2 separate regions of the Homo sapiens genome follow, and region 1 is linked to region 2. Evidence: promoter capture Hi-C in human tissues and cell types (Jung and others, 2019). All regions are on one chromosome and are shown on one strand. Each heading gives the region's core, a stretch centred on a gene start or on the middle of the fragment in contact. The rest is flanking DNA. Distances are from core to core; before and after follow the strand shown. Region 1 overlaps RB1CC1 (RB1 inducible coiled-coil 1). Region 2 holds the start of NPBWR1 (neuropeptides B and W receptor 1).

Region 1 (5,767 bases), core at 731-3,230, 310 kb after region 2:
AAATAATGTCTTGGCGAATTTACGGCTGTAGGTCTGACCAGTTGAAGCACCTAAGATTCTTAAAATCATCAAAATCAGTTTTGAGTTATGTTTCATAAGTCTTTTGAAGATTAATATATTTACTCACAAGTGTGCGTAATTTTAATACATTGTATCTTTTCATGATTTTTTTTTTTTAAGACAGTCTTGCTCTGTAGCTTAGGCTGGAGTGGTGTGATCTCGACTCACTGCAACCTCCACCTCCCGGGTTCAAGTGATTCTTGTGCATTAGCCTCCCGAGTAGCTGGGATTACAAGTGTGCTGCGCCGTCACACCCGGCTAATTTTTACATAATTAATAGAGACAGGATTTCTCCATTTTGGACAGGCTGGTCTCAAACCCCTGGCCTCAGGTGATCTGCGCACCTTGGACTCCCAAAGTGCTGGGAGTTACAGGTGTGAAACATTGCACCCAGCCCTTTTCATGAATCTTATTTTTAAGTGAAAGTGCCTGAAAGGCAAGAGATCCCATGTGGTACTGTAAATTGCCCTGGTTTTTATTGATTTGTTTTGTTTCGTTTTTAATTAAAAAAAAAAAATCGAGACAAGGTCTCTCTCTGTTGCCCAGGCTGAAGTGTGGTGTTGCGATCTTGGCTCACTGCAGCTTCAACCTCTTTGGCTCAAGCAATCCTCCTGTCTCAGCTCAGCAAGTAGCTGGGAGTACAGGCGAGTGCCGCTGCACCCAGCTAATTTTTGTTTTGTTTTGGTTTTAGGTTTTGTTTTTTTGTTTTCGTAGAGATGGGGTTTCACCATCTTGTCCAGGCTGGTCTCGAACTGCTGAGCTTAAGCGATCCGCCTGCCTCAGCCTCCCCAAGTGCTGGGATTCCAGGCAAATTGGAATTGCCTGGAATTTTGCTGCACCCAACCAAACTGCCTTGGCTTTAACCTGTGAATTTAACCAATTATTTGAACAGCCCATTTTACAGCCAATTATATGTTTTAATAAAGCAATAACTTTATTTTTTCAAGTTCTATTAATTACAGTTTACAAGGTAGTAGGAACAGTTTAAGGCTTCTGTTCAGTGCTTTTGAAAAGTTTTGAAATACTTTTTAGAATTTAGTTTGTTTAAAAAATAAAAATATCTTGTAGTGAGACATCTCCTTTCTTCTTTATACCTTAACTTGAACAGCAAAAATCACATATTTTGTAGTGATTATACTGTGAATCATTAATTTTATCACAAAGACTTAGAAGAATGGTCTATCTCAGACATGACTCAATACGTGTTTTATGTAGTATGCTTTATTTATCCTCAATAGAATATAAGCTCTGTTTGGCAACGATTTTAATCAGTTTTGGTCACCGCTACATTCTTAGCATCTAGAATGGTAACTGGTATACTATAGATGCTTGGCATATGTTTGTAGATTAATTGTGAACCCAAAAGTATCTGAGACAGGTCTCAATCAATTTAGAAAGTTTATTTTGCCAAGGTTAAGGACGAGCTCATGACACAGCCTCGGGAGGTCCTGACGTGTGCCCAAGGTGGTCAGGACACAGCTTGGTTTTATACATTTTAGGGAAACATGAGATATCAACCAGTATGTGTAAGATGTTCTGTCTGGAAAGGTGGGACAACTCAAAGCTGGGAAGAGGGCTTCCAGGTCATAGGTAGATAAGAGACAAATGGTTGCATTATTTTGAAACTGTGATTAGCCTTTCACTGAATACACAATTTACATGTCAGAGGATGGTAGAGGAATTGTCACTTATGCTTCAGTCTGACTTAGTGAAGCAGTGGGGCCGAGAAAGCAATCATATACGCATTTGTCTCACATGAGCAGAGGAACAGAGGGATGACTTTAAGTTCTGTCTGTTTTTTGTCCACAAGGAATTTTCTTGTGGGCAAATTGTGAGGTCTTTGTAGCTATCTTATTTTAGGAATAAAATGGGAGGCAGGTTTGCTTGATGTAGTTCCCAGCTTGACCTCCCTTTTCCTTAGTGATTTTTGGTTCCCAAGATTTATTTTCTTTTCACAGAATAAATTGTCTTTCAGACCCAGAGAGCATCACAGTCACATTCAGAAAGGTGTCCAAATGTAAATCACACTTTCACATAGAATTACAGCTATATTAACAAATTTTTTCTTCCATTGTCTTCATTTGTAATATATAAAAAACTTAAGCTTTTAAAAAACTAAAGTTGAATTATGGTCTTAAAAATGATGGTCAATCTTATCTTCACTGGCAGGATATAGACCATTTGTCTGGATAATTTTAGTAAGTTGCTATACAGTTTTAGGCCTTCCTAGTTATTATTTGTTGTGTTATTTCTCTTTTTAAAACCCTGCATTGTACCAGATAGCGTTCAGAGGGAAGTGGAGGAAATTCAGAGCATCAAAATTTGACTTAATAAACAAAATATCCTTATCTGTCCTTGGTTTGTGCAACCATGCATTGGGCTCACTTTGCTTGGGAAAAATAGGTGTTTTTATCACCCTTTCAAGCTTCAAAGACCTTGGTTTCCATGCTTCAGGTCTTATGAGATGGTGTGGATAAATGGATTGAAGCTTGTTTGAAGAGGAGAACAGTCCCGGCTAAGCCATGGCTATAGCTTATCAGCTAGCAAGTACCATTTGATTGTGCTCATCATCAGTAGAGGAAGTGGGTGGCTATCACAAAATTCATTGTTTCGTGATTGTTCACAAATTTTTTTAAACTGAGACATCTCAGAAGTTTCATTGAAGATGAGAAAAGAGGTTTGTTCTCAGCCTTCAGAACTTTATGCTCCCACCCCAGTTTAACCAGAGTAGTAGTGTTTGCTAGGCAAGGTGTCAGAGCGCTGGCATTGCAAAGTGGTTGACTCTGGTTTGGTAAGAAGAATTTACTGACAACAGTATAGGTTTGAAAAAGGAAAGTTTTATTAGAGCGAATGATGCTGAAGAGTGTAGCGGGGTGCCTCAGCAAGAGAGGACTGAGCACGCTGTGGTGAATTTTCCCGACGAGCATATATGGACCTTAAGGCAGGATCTTAAAGGTAGTTTGGACCAATGTTGGCCGTGTAGGTCATGATAAATGATTACATTTGTAGACATTTTTGTGTCTTGATGTCAGCAAGGGTTGCTCAGTGAGTTTTGGCATGCATACATTCCAGAGATGTATAGAAATTCTAGTTACTTACAACATTTTTGAAAGAGACCTGTAACCACATGCTAGGAAAGTTTAATTACTTCTAAATTCCTCAGCGTTCTGCCTCCAGATGGCCTGTTTGATGGTCACCAGGTGTCTTTGCTTGCTGCATTATACTTCTAACCTCTGCCTTCCAGGCTCAAGTGATCTTCCCACCTCAGACTTCCGAGTAGCTGGGACCATAGGCGCTTGCCATTATGCCCAGCTAATTTTTTGTATTTTTGGTAGAGATGGGGTTTCACCATTTTGCCCAGGCTGGAGATTTTAAATCTTTTTGGTTTTTTTGTTGTTGTTCGTTGGGACAACTAAGTTCCTCTTCAAAGACTCAACTTCCTGGTCATAAGTTGTAAGATTGTAAATCAACCCCATCCCCTTCTCCCCTCTGCCTTCTCCTTTTCTCACAAATCGCACATTTACCCTATTTGGAAAAAGTTTAGGTCTAAGCTAACCGGGATCAGCTTAGATTGTGTGGTCCAACCCCAGCCAATAGGGGAAGGACACAGAAACAGAAACTGCATTAGAGATAAAACCCCTTCCTTCCTTTGTTTGGTGTTCTCTTGCAATTGTGACGGCTGTGAGCAGCAGCCTTCTGCAGAAGTAAAGTTGCCTTGCCAAGAAATTTTCTAAGTGTGGGTTTCTTTTGGCTACACTGAGCACTTGTTTCCAACATTGTTGTTTTTCCAAAATGAAAGATTTTGAATCTAATGCATTAGAATTTTCAAAGTCTTCTTGAAAAATCTGTCCTTTTCTCTGTGTTTTATTTTTAAGATTAAATATGTAATATAAATAAAATGTGATTCAAAAATCAGTTTTTAATCTAACCAAATTTACTAATGGTTGAAATAAAGGAATTATTAATGAACATAAGAACTATATTAGTTTGGGCTCTTTAAAGCTGGACACAGGCTTGAATGTGTATAACAGTGGGTGAAATTTTTGCAGTAAGAATGCATGTGGTACTCAAATTGTGTAAGTTCATAAACTTTTTTTTTTTTTTTAGATGTCTCAGAGCATGTCTTCAGTATCTTCAAGGCATTCTGAAAAGATAGCTATTAGAGAGTAAGTATTTTAGTTTTGTGAGTATTTTTCTGTGAAAAACATTCACTGAATTGTTAATGAAAATGTATTTCAGTGACAGTAATTCAGGTCCAGGTTCATTGAGCTGAGTGTTTTGCACTCAGTAGTAGTAAAAGTTTTTTACTGGAAAGCAGGATTTTTCTAAATTGTTATTCTGGAAACATTTAGATTGCCAAAACTTTCCAGTTATAGCATTATGATTAACATAAATATCCTTGAAGCCTTTTCCTCCAGTTAACTTTTCAGCATGTGCTACCTCTTTTAAATCCCATTTATCTCCTTAGTCTTGTTAATCTATATTGGAGAGTTTTGATTTGTTTTTAAGTTGCAGTGTTTCCTCATTTTTAGTTTTTAGATTTCATTTTATTAATATTCTACAAATTCATAATAAACAAATTGTCAATGAAAAAGTCAAACTCTGTAAAATATTTGAAGATATTTATTCTGAGCCAAATATGAGTGACCATGGCCTGTGACACAGCCCTCAGGAGCCCCTGAGAACATGTGCCCAAGGTGATTGGATGACGGTGAGGGGGAAACTTGGTTTCATACATTTTAGGGAGACATGAGACATTGAAGATACAAGTTGGTTTGGTCCAGAAAGGTGGGACAAATGAAAGCTGGGAGGGTAGCTTCCAAAGTATAGGTAGATTTTTAAAGTTTTCTGATTGGCAGTTGGTTGAAAGAGCTGTCAGTAGAAAGGAATGTCTAGGTTAAGATAAGAGGTTGTGGAGACCAAAGTTTTGTCATGCAGATGAAGCCTCCAGGTAGCAGGCTTGACAGATAATAGTTTGTAAATGTTTCTTATCAGGCTTAACCTCTGTGTTAGTGTTAAATTCTTGTTGACTTTTCCTGAATTCTAAGAGGGAAGAGGACATGATGAGGCAAGTCCAACCCCTGCCTTTTGTCATGGCCTGAACCGGTCTTTCAGGTTAAATTTATAGGGCACTGGCCTAGAGGAGGAAGTTCATTCAGATGGTTGGTTGGGGGGGCTTCAAATTTTATTTTTGGTTTACAGAATTTATCAATTGAATGGTTTAATAATTTTCCTGCACTGTATTACCCCATAGTTAAAATTTTTCTTTAGCTTTGGTTATTTAAATGGAGCTCTGGAATAATAAAAGCATTGTTAGCAACTTATGAATAGTGTTCAGCCTTTTATCCTGACAGGAAGGTTGTGAAAGTTAAGACCCTTTATTTAACTTCTTGTATTTTATTTCTAAATTTCTAAATTTGTTGACCACATTTTTGGTTGTCAGATATCTGTGATTCTGACTTTTCATGTCTCATTAAAATTTCAGCTTCTCTCAGTGATTTGAAAGGGCTTAGTGGTATCTGTCTTTACCAGCTGTATGTCATGTCAATGGGCCGTTCATTAATGTTCTTTCAGAGACTAGAGAGAGAGGAGCTCCAAAAATACTGCCTCATAGAGGCCCCATTTCCCATCTCCCCATTTTAAGTTATTAGCTTTTGGCATTTAGCCAAAACAGTGCCTGCCACATGGTTGTTAGGTAATCACTAAG
Region 2 (6,080 bases), core at 881-3,380:
CCGGCAGCGTCCTCGGGCCTCCCTTCGAAGGCGCGGAGAGTTCCGACTCCAGCCAGGTTCCAGACTGCCAGGGCTCGGGTGGGGCAGCAGGGAGCAGGGCAGGGAGGGGGCGGTTCCCAGCAATACCGCCCTCCTCCTCTACCCTCCTCTTCCTCCACCTCGGCTTTAGGGAGCCCTCAGTGTGGCGATCTCAGCCTCAGTTCTCCTCACCCGGCATGGCCGCGCATCACCTGGAGGGCTTGGCAAGGTCAACCTGCGGGCACAGTCGCAGCGCTTCCGATCTGCTAGGTCGGGTATGGGGCGCGAGTCGGTTTCCCCAGGAGGCCTAGGCGGCCTGTCTGGTCCCGCACTCTGGCGCCGGCTCCTCCCTCGCTGGCCAGGAGTGGCGGGCAGTTGCGGAGCCGGACGCTGGGGGAGTCAGGCTGCCGCGCGGCAAGTTATCAGCTGGCGGAGGTTCCTGCGGAAGCTGGCGTCCAGGAAGGCGTAGAGGAAGGGGTTGAGGCAGCTGTTGGCGTAGCTCAGGCTGGTGATGAAGTAGGAGATAGCGATGACCAGCGGCGTCTGCGGGAGGTCGGTGGTGAGCGCCACCACGGTGCTCAGGTGGTAGGGCGTCCAGCAGAGGAGGCACACCGCCAGGATTGCCACCACCAGGAAGGTCACCCGCTTCTTGGCGCGCTCCAGGGCCTTGGCGTGGCTGTCCAGCCGCATGGCATGCAGCCGGCACAGCAGGGTGGTATAGAGGACACAGATGGTGGACACGGGGATGGCGAAGCCCAGCACGAGCGTGTAGAGGCGGCTCGCGCGCCACCAGAAGGCCTCGGGCTGCGGAAAGACTAGCACGCACTGGCGCCGGCCCTGCTCGTCGTCTAGCCGGGCGAAGACTGCGAAGGGCAGCACGACGAGTGTGACGATCCCCCACACGGCCAGGCTCACCGCGCGCGCGGCGCTGTAGGTGCGGCCGGCCACCCGGCGCGACTCCGCAGTGGCCAACACCACCAGGTAGCGGTCGGCGCTCATGACGGTGAGGAAGTAGAGGCTGGAGAAGGTGTTGTACTGGTCGATAGCCACGATGAGCTTGCACATGAGCTCCCCGAAGGGCCACTGCCGCAGCAGGAAGTCGGCGATGTTGATGGGCAGCACCAGCGTGAAGAGCTCGTCGGCGATGGCCAGGTTGAGGATGAACAGGTTGGTGACGGTCTTCATGCGGGGCGCCCGCAGCAACACGTACAGCACGGCGGAGTTGCCCGCCAGACCCACGGCGCAGATCACCGCGTAGACAACTGGTACAGCCACCGCCAGCGGCGCCGGCAGCGGCGCCAGAGTCGACGCGTTGGAGCAGCTCAGCGCCGGGTCCGGGCCCGATGCGTTGGCGGGCCAGGGCTCCGAGAACGAGGCGTTGTCCATCTCAACGAGGGCAGAGGAGCCGGCGACCTGGCGTCCCCCAAGGACGCCCTACGGAGCTCAGCGGTCCTGAAGCCCGGTTCTGCACGGACCTGCTCGCGGACGCTCGTTTCAGCTCTCCAAGCCGTTCTCTGGTTTTTCCGGAGGAGGGGACCGTTCCCAGCCACCCCACGGCCCAATGTCGCCGCGGACTCACGGGGCTGGAAAGAGGAATTTAAAGCATAGGTTAGTTCGTCGACGTGTAACTTTAGAAATAGGCGCGGTCCCGAGGAGGGGTGGGGGTGGCGCCGCGGCGCCCCAAACCTCCTCCACGTGAGCGCTCTCTGCTACCTGTTGAAATCTCACTTCTACCAGTTGAATACATCAAACGAAATGCTAGAGAGAGAAGAATCCTCCATAGGAAAAATGCAAACCCTTCTCCCCTCTTTCAGGAAACTTCCGTAGACCCAGGTTACCCCACAGAATCCCGCAGTGGCAAGCTTCGGTCTCCCCAGGGTCTGTGCGCCCTCAGTAACAGCAAGCTCAACAGCAGTCTTTACCTTACCTGGCTGGCTGGGGAAGGGGTCTGCCTTTCCTGGAGCTGTCAGGAGAAAAGCCCGCCGGCTGCGGGGAGGCTGAGACGCCTGCCGGCTGGGTGTCCGCCTCCCCCTGTCTGCCTCCCCCGAGTTCGCCAGAGTCCGCAGCTCGCGTCCCCGCCGGTCCCTCCCGCGCGCCTGGAAGTGCAGGGATGGCGCAGCCGCGACTGCGTTCCACTGCCCTGACCGCCGCGCCCACCCCCACACCCCAAGTAAAATGGTCTTAGAACAGAGAACAGAAATTCCCCCAAATTTAAGGGATTCCTTTCTTCCATCCCAGTCGTGCAACCTCACTCCATCTGAAATAATAGAAAGCTCTCCTGTTAAGAATCGAATTTAAGGAAAACAAAGTTAGGGTGTAAGTGATCTATTTTTAAAGGAGAACAATGTAGTGGAGGCGCCTGTTCCATTTTTTATACACCGTAACACAAATAGGCTAATGTAATGTGAAATCTGAAAGGAGGAAAAAGTGAGTGCAATTTTATAATGCAAATCACCTGTTTTCTGCTACTCTGGTCTTCAAGGGGATAGAAGATTGTTAGTATGTTTTCTAAAACTACTTCTACTTCTACTTTTGTGTAAGTAAAGACTTGATTAGTAAAGACAAACGGCTTCCGCAAAGCCTTTTAGGGAACCATGACAATGCGTATTTCATAAAACGTTACAAGTTGTTCAACACACTCTCTACTTATCCACACACTTGCCCGATTCTCCTGCTAATGAGAGCTATCCTGCGATCGCAGCGGAGAGTAGCCAAGGAAGGACTAGCAGGGGCAGTCTTGAACTCCCCTGTCGCTATTTCCCTGGACTTTGGATTCTTTCTCTAGGAAGGGAAAATCATCTTAGGCTCCTCACCAGTTCCCCTAAGAATCGAATGAAATAAACTAAATATTGGTTATTTCCAATTTCTGCTTTTTTTTTTTCTCCACATTTCCTTTAGGAGAGAGAGCAAATTAAAACACGAGATTATATCCTCTAGTAAACTACCCTTCCACAAAAGCAGGCGAAGCCCAAATAAAGTGTATTTTTGGTCCTCTAGGATGCATCTTAGAGAAGGGGGCCTGAGATCCAGAGAGACCTAAAGTCGGCAGTAGAAGACTGTGGGGCCAGAAATACAGTAGCCCCCCCATACCTATGGGGGATAGGTTCCAAGAGCCCCAGTGGATGCCTGAAACCATGGATAGTACCCATTGCGGTCAATGGGAACATGTTTCTGTTCTTCCATCCAAAAATGATGCAACAGCAAAACTAGCATGCATTTCTTTTTTCTTCTTCACATTTTCGTGGATAGATTTGTTTTTAGTAGATCTTGGCAACCTCTGCATATGATTTTTTTTCTTTCCTTATTAAGTCCAGAATTTTTACCTTTTAACTTAAAGGAGGCATTTGCAGCTTCTCTTTGGCATATCTGAATTGCCAGCATCACTTCTCTTGCACTTTGGAGCCAGAGAGAAATAAGGGCAAAAAGTCAGTAAAATCAAGGCAACTTGAAGACACCACACTGGTCATTGCCACAGTCATCTAATAACCCAGATTGTGAAGTGACTAACAGGTGGATATTGTAGACAGCAGGGAAACGCTGGGCAAAGGGAGGACTCACTTTCTGTGGGAAGGAGTAAGATGGCTGGATCTCATCACGCCAATCAGAAGTCAACACAATTGAAAACCTAGGAACTGTTTATTCCTGGAATTTTCTGTTTAATATTTTTAGACCACAGTTGACCACGAGTAACTGAAACTAGGGACTCCAAAACCACTGACAGGGGGATCCACTGTCCAAAAGCTCCCTGGAATTTACCTACTCAATTATCTTTTTACCAGGATCTATACAAATCGGCTCCCCTGCAGTTTCACACTTTCTGTGAAACAAAATAACAGATGATTCTTAAGCTATGTCCGTAAGAAACACTATATGATAAAACACCATATAATGTTAAAGAAAAAATATATATAATAGAAAATCTCCAAACGGTTGAAGATGATCAACTATATACACATACGTGTATACATACACATATATACACACACGTGTATATACACACACATATATACACACGCATATATACACGCACATATACACACGTGTATATACAGACACATATGCACGTGTATATACACACACATACACAGTGTATATACACACATATATGCACACTTGTGTGTATATACACACACATATGCACACGTGTATATACACATACACACGTGTGTATATACACACATATATACACACATGTGTGTATGTGTGTATATATGCACATGTATATAGTTTATACACGTGTGTATACACGTGTGAATGTTTGTATACACATATGCACATGTGTATATACGTGTATATACACGTATGTATACACGTGTGTCCATATATGTTTATGTGTATATATACACATGTATGTATATAGTTGATCATCTTCAACCGTTTGGAGATTTTCTAGCCTTTTTATTGTTGACTTCCAGTTGAATTACACTGTAAACTGAGAACATACTCAATATGACTTCAATTCATAGATATTTTTTGAAACTTACTCCCCAGTATATAGTTATTTTCTAATTATTTCATGTGTACTTGAAAAATTGTTTTGCACTTGTTGGGTGCAAAACTCTACATATGTCAACTAGTCAAACTTACTATGTTGTTCAAATTTCTCTATTGATTTTTTTTCTTTTTTTTTGAGACTGGGTCTTGCTTTGTCACCCAGGCTGAAGTACAGTGGTGCAATTGCAGCTCACTGCAGCCTCAACCTCCTGGGCACAAGTAATCATCCCCTCTCAGCACCCCTAGTAGCTGGGATTACAGGTGCGCATCACCACACCAGGCTAATTTTTTGTATTTTTCGTAGAGGCAGGATCTCACCATGTTGCCCAGGCTGGTCTTGAGTTCCTGAGCTCAAGCGAACCACCAACCTCAGCCTCCTAAAGTGCTGGGATTACATGTGTGAGCCACCGTGCCTGGCTTCTGCTGATATTTTTATCTAACTGTCTCATTAGTTACTGAAAGGACGGGGGGGGGGAATTTCAATTAATGAGTGTGAATTTCTCTACTTACGCTTTCATTATATGCTGTCAACTTGTACTACGTAATTTTACTTTTTTTTTTTTTTGAGATAGAGTCTCACTCACTCTGTTGCCCAGGCTGAAGTGTGGTGGTGGGAGCCTGTGCCTCCCAGGTTCAAGTGATTCTCCTGCCTCAGCCTCCCGAGTAGCTGGGACTACAGGGGCACACCACCACGCCCAGCTAATTTTCTTTTTTTTTGTATTTTTTGTGGAGATGGAGTTTCACCATGTTGGCCAGACTGGTCTCGAACTTCTGACCTCAAGCGATCCGCCTGCCTTGGCCTCCCAAAGTGCTGGGATTACAGGCACAAGCCACCATGACTGGCCAATTTTCACTACATAATTTGATGCTGTTTTATTAAGGGTACACGAGTTTAAGATCGCTATATTTTCCTGTGGAATTTACCCTTTCATCTTGATAGCCTAATTATAATGATTTTATCATCATGTTATTTGATTTTATCAAATGATCATACATTTAACATTATAATATAGAATATATCACATATAATTATAATATTATCTGTATATATTACCTTTTATCATTATAACATCTTTAACTAGGTTTCTATTTCTTTTTTCTCTTTTTTTGTTTTTTTTTTTTTTGAGACAGAGTCTCGCTCTGTCGCCCAAGCTGGAGTGCAATGGAACGATCTTGGCTCACTGCAAGCCCCACCTCCCGGGTTCACGCCATTCTCCTACCTCAGCCTCCTGAGTAGCTGGGACTACAGGCGCCTGCCACCACGCCTGGCTAATTTTTTCTATTTTTTATTAGAGATGGGGTTTCACCATGTTAGCCAGGATGGTCTCGATCTCCTGACCTCGTGATCCGCCCTCCTCGGCCTCCCAAAGTGCTGGGATTACCGGCATGAGCCACCGCGCCCAGCCATTTCCTACTTGCTGTATGTGGCCACTTTTGTTTGATATCATTACAGCTACATTAACTGTTTTTCCATTAATATTATCATGGAACAGCTTTTTTTAAAAAATCTTTTTACTTTAAATCTTTCTATGTCTTTGTATTTAATGTGGGTCCCATGTAAGCATTAG

The links. Contacts are between HindIII fragments. The study calls those that stand out against the background at their distance.
Region 1: a contact is called between a fragment that was not itself captured here and the fragment with the promoter of NPBWR1 in region 2, in 1 of the 25 tissues and cell types used here (heart left ventricle).

What each region holds. Positions count from the first base shown.
Region 1 is chr8:52,628,929-52,634,695 of GRCh38, reverse strand. It overlaps RB1CC1 (RB1 inducible coiled-coil 1), which reads left to right. Exons shown (of 24, transcript NM_014781.5): 21 at 4,168-4,226. Among named protein-coding and RNA genes, the nearest start is that of ALKAL1, 66 kb to the right of the region's middle. RefSeq lists an enhancer at 4,701-5,415. The HindIII fragment of the contact is 5,717 bases long and covers 1-4,838 here.
Region 2 is chr8:52,935,232-52,941,311 of GRCh38, reverse strand. It overlaps NPBWR1 (neuropeptides B and W receptor 1), which reads right to left and starts at 2,130. Exons shown (of 2, transcript NM_005285.5): 1 at 1,946-2,130; 2 at 1-1,601. The coding sequence starts at 1,404. The coding sequence ends at 418. RefSeq lists enhancers at 692-1,323, 1,324-1,955. The HindIII fragment of the contact is 16,506 bases long and covers 1-6,080 here.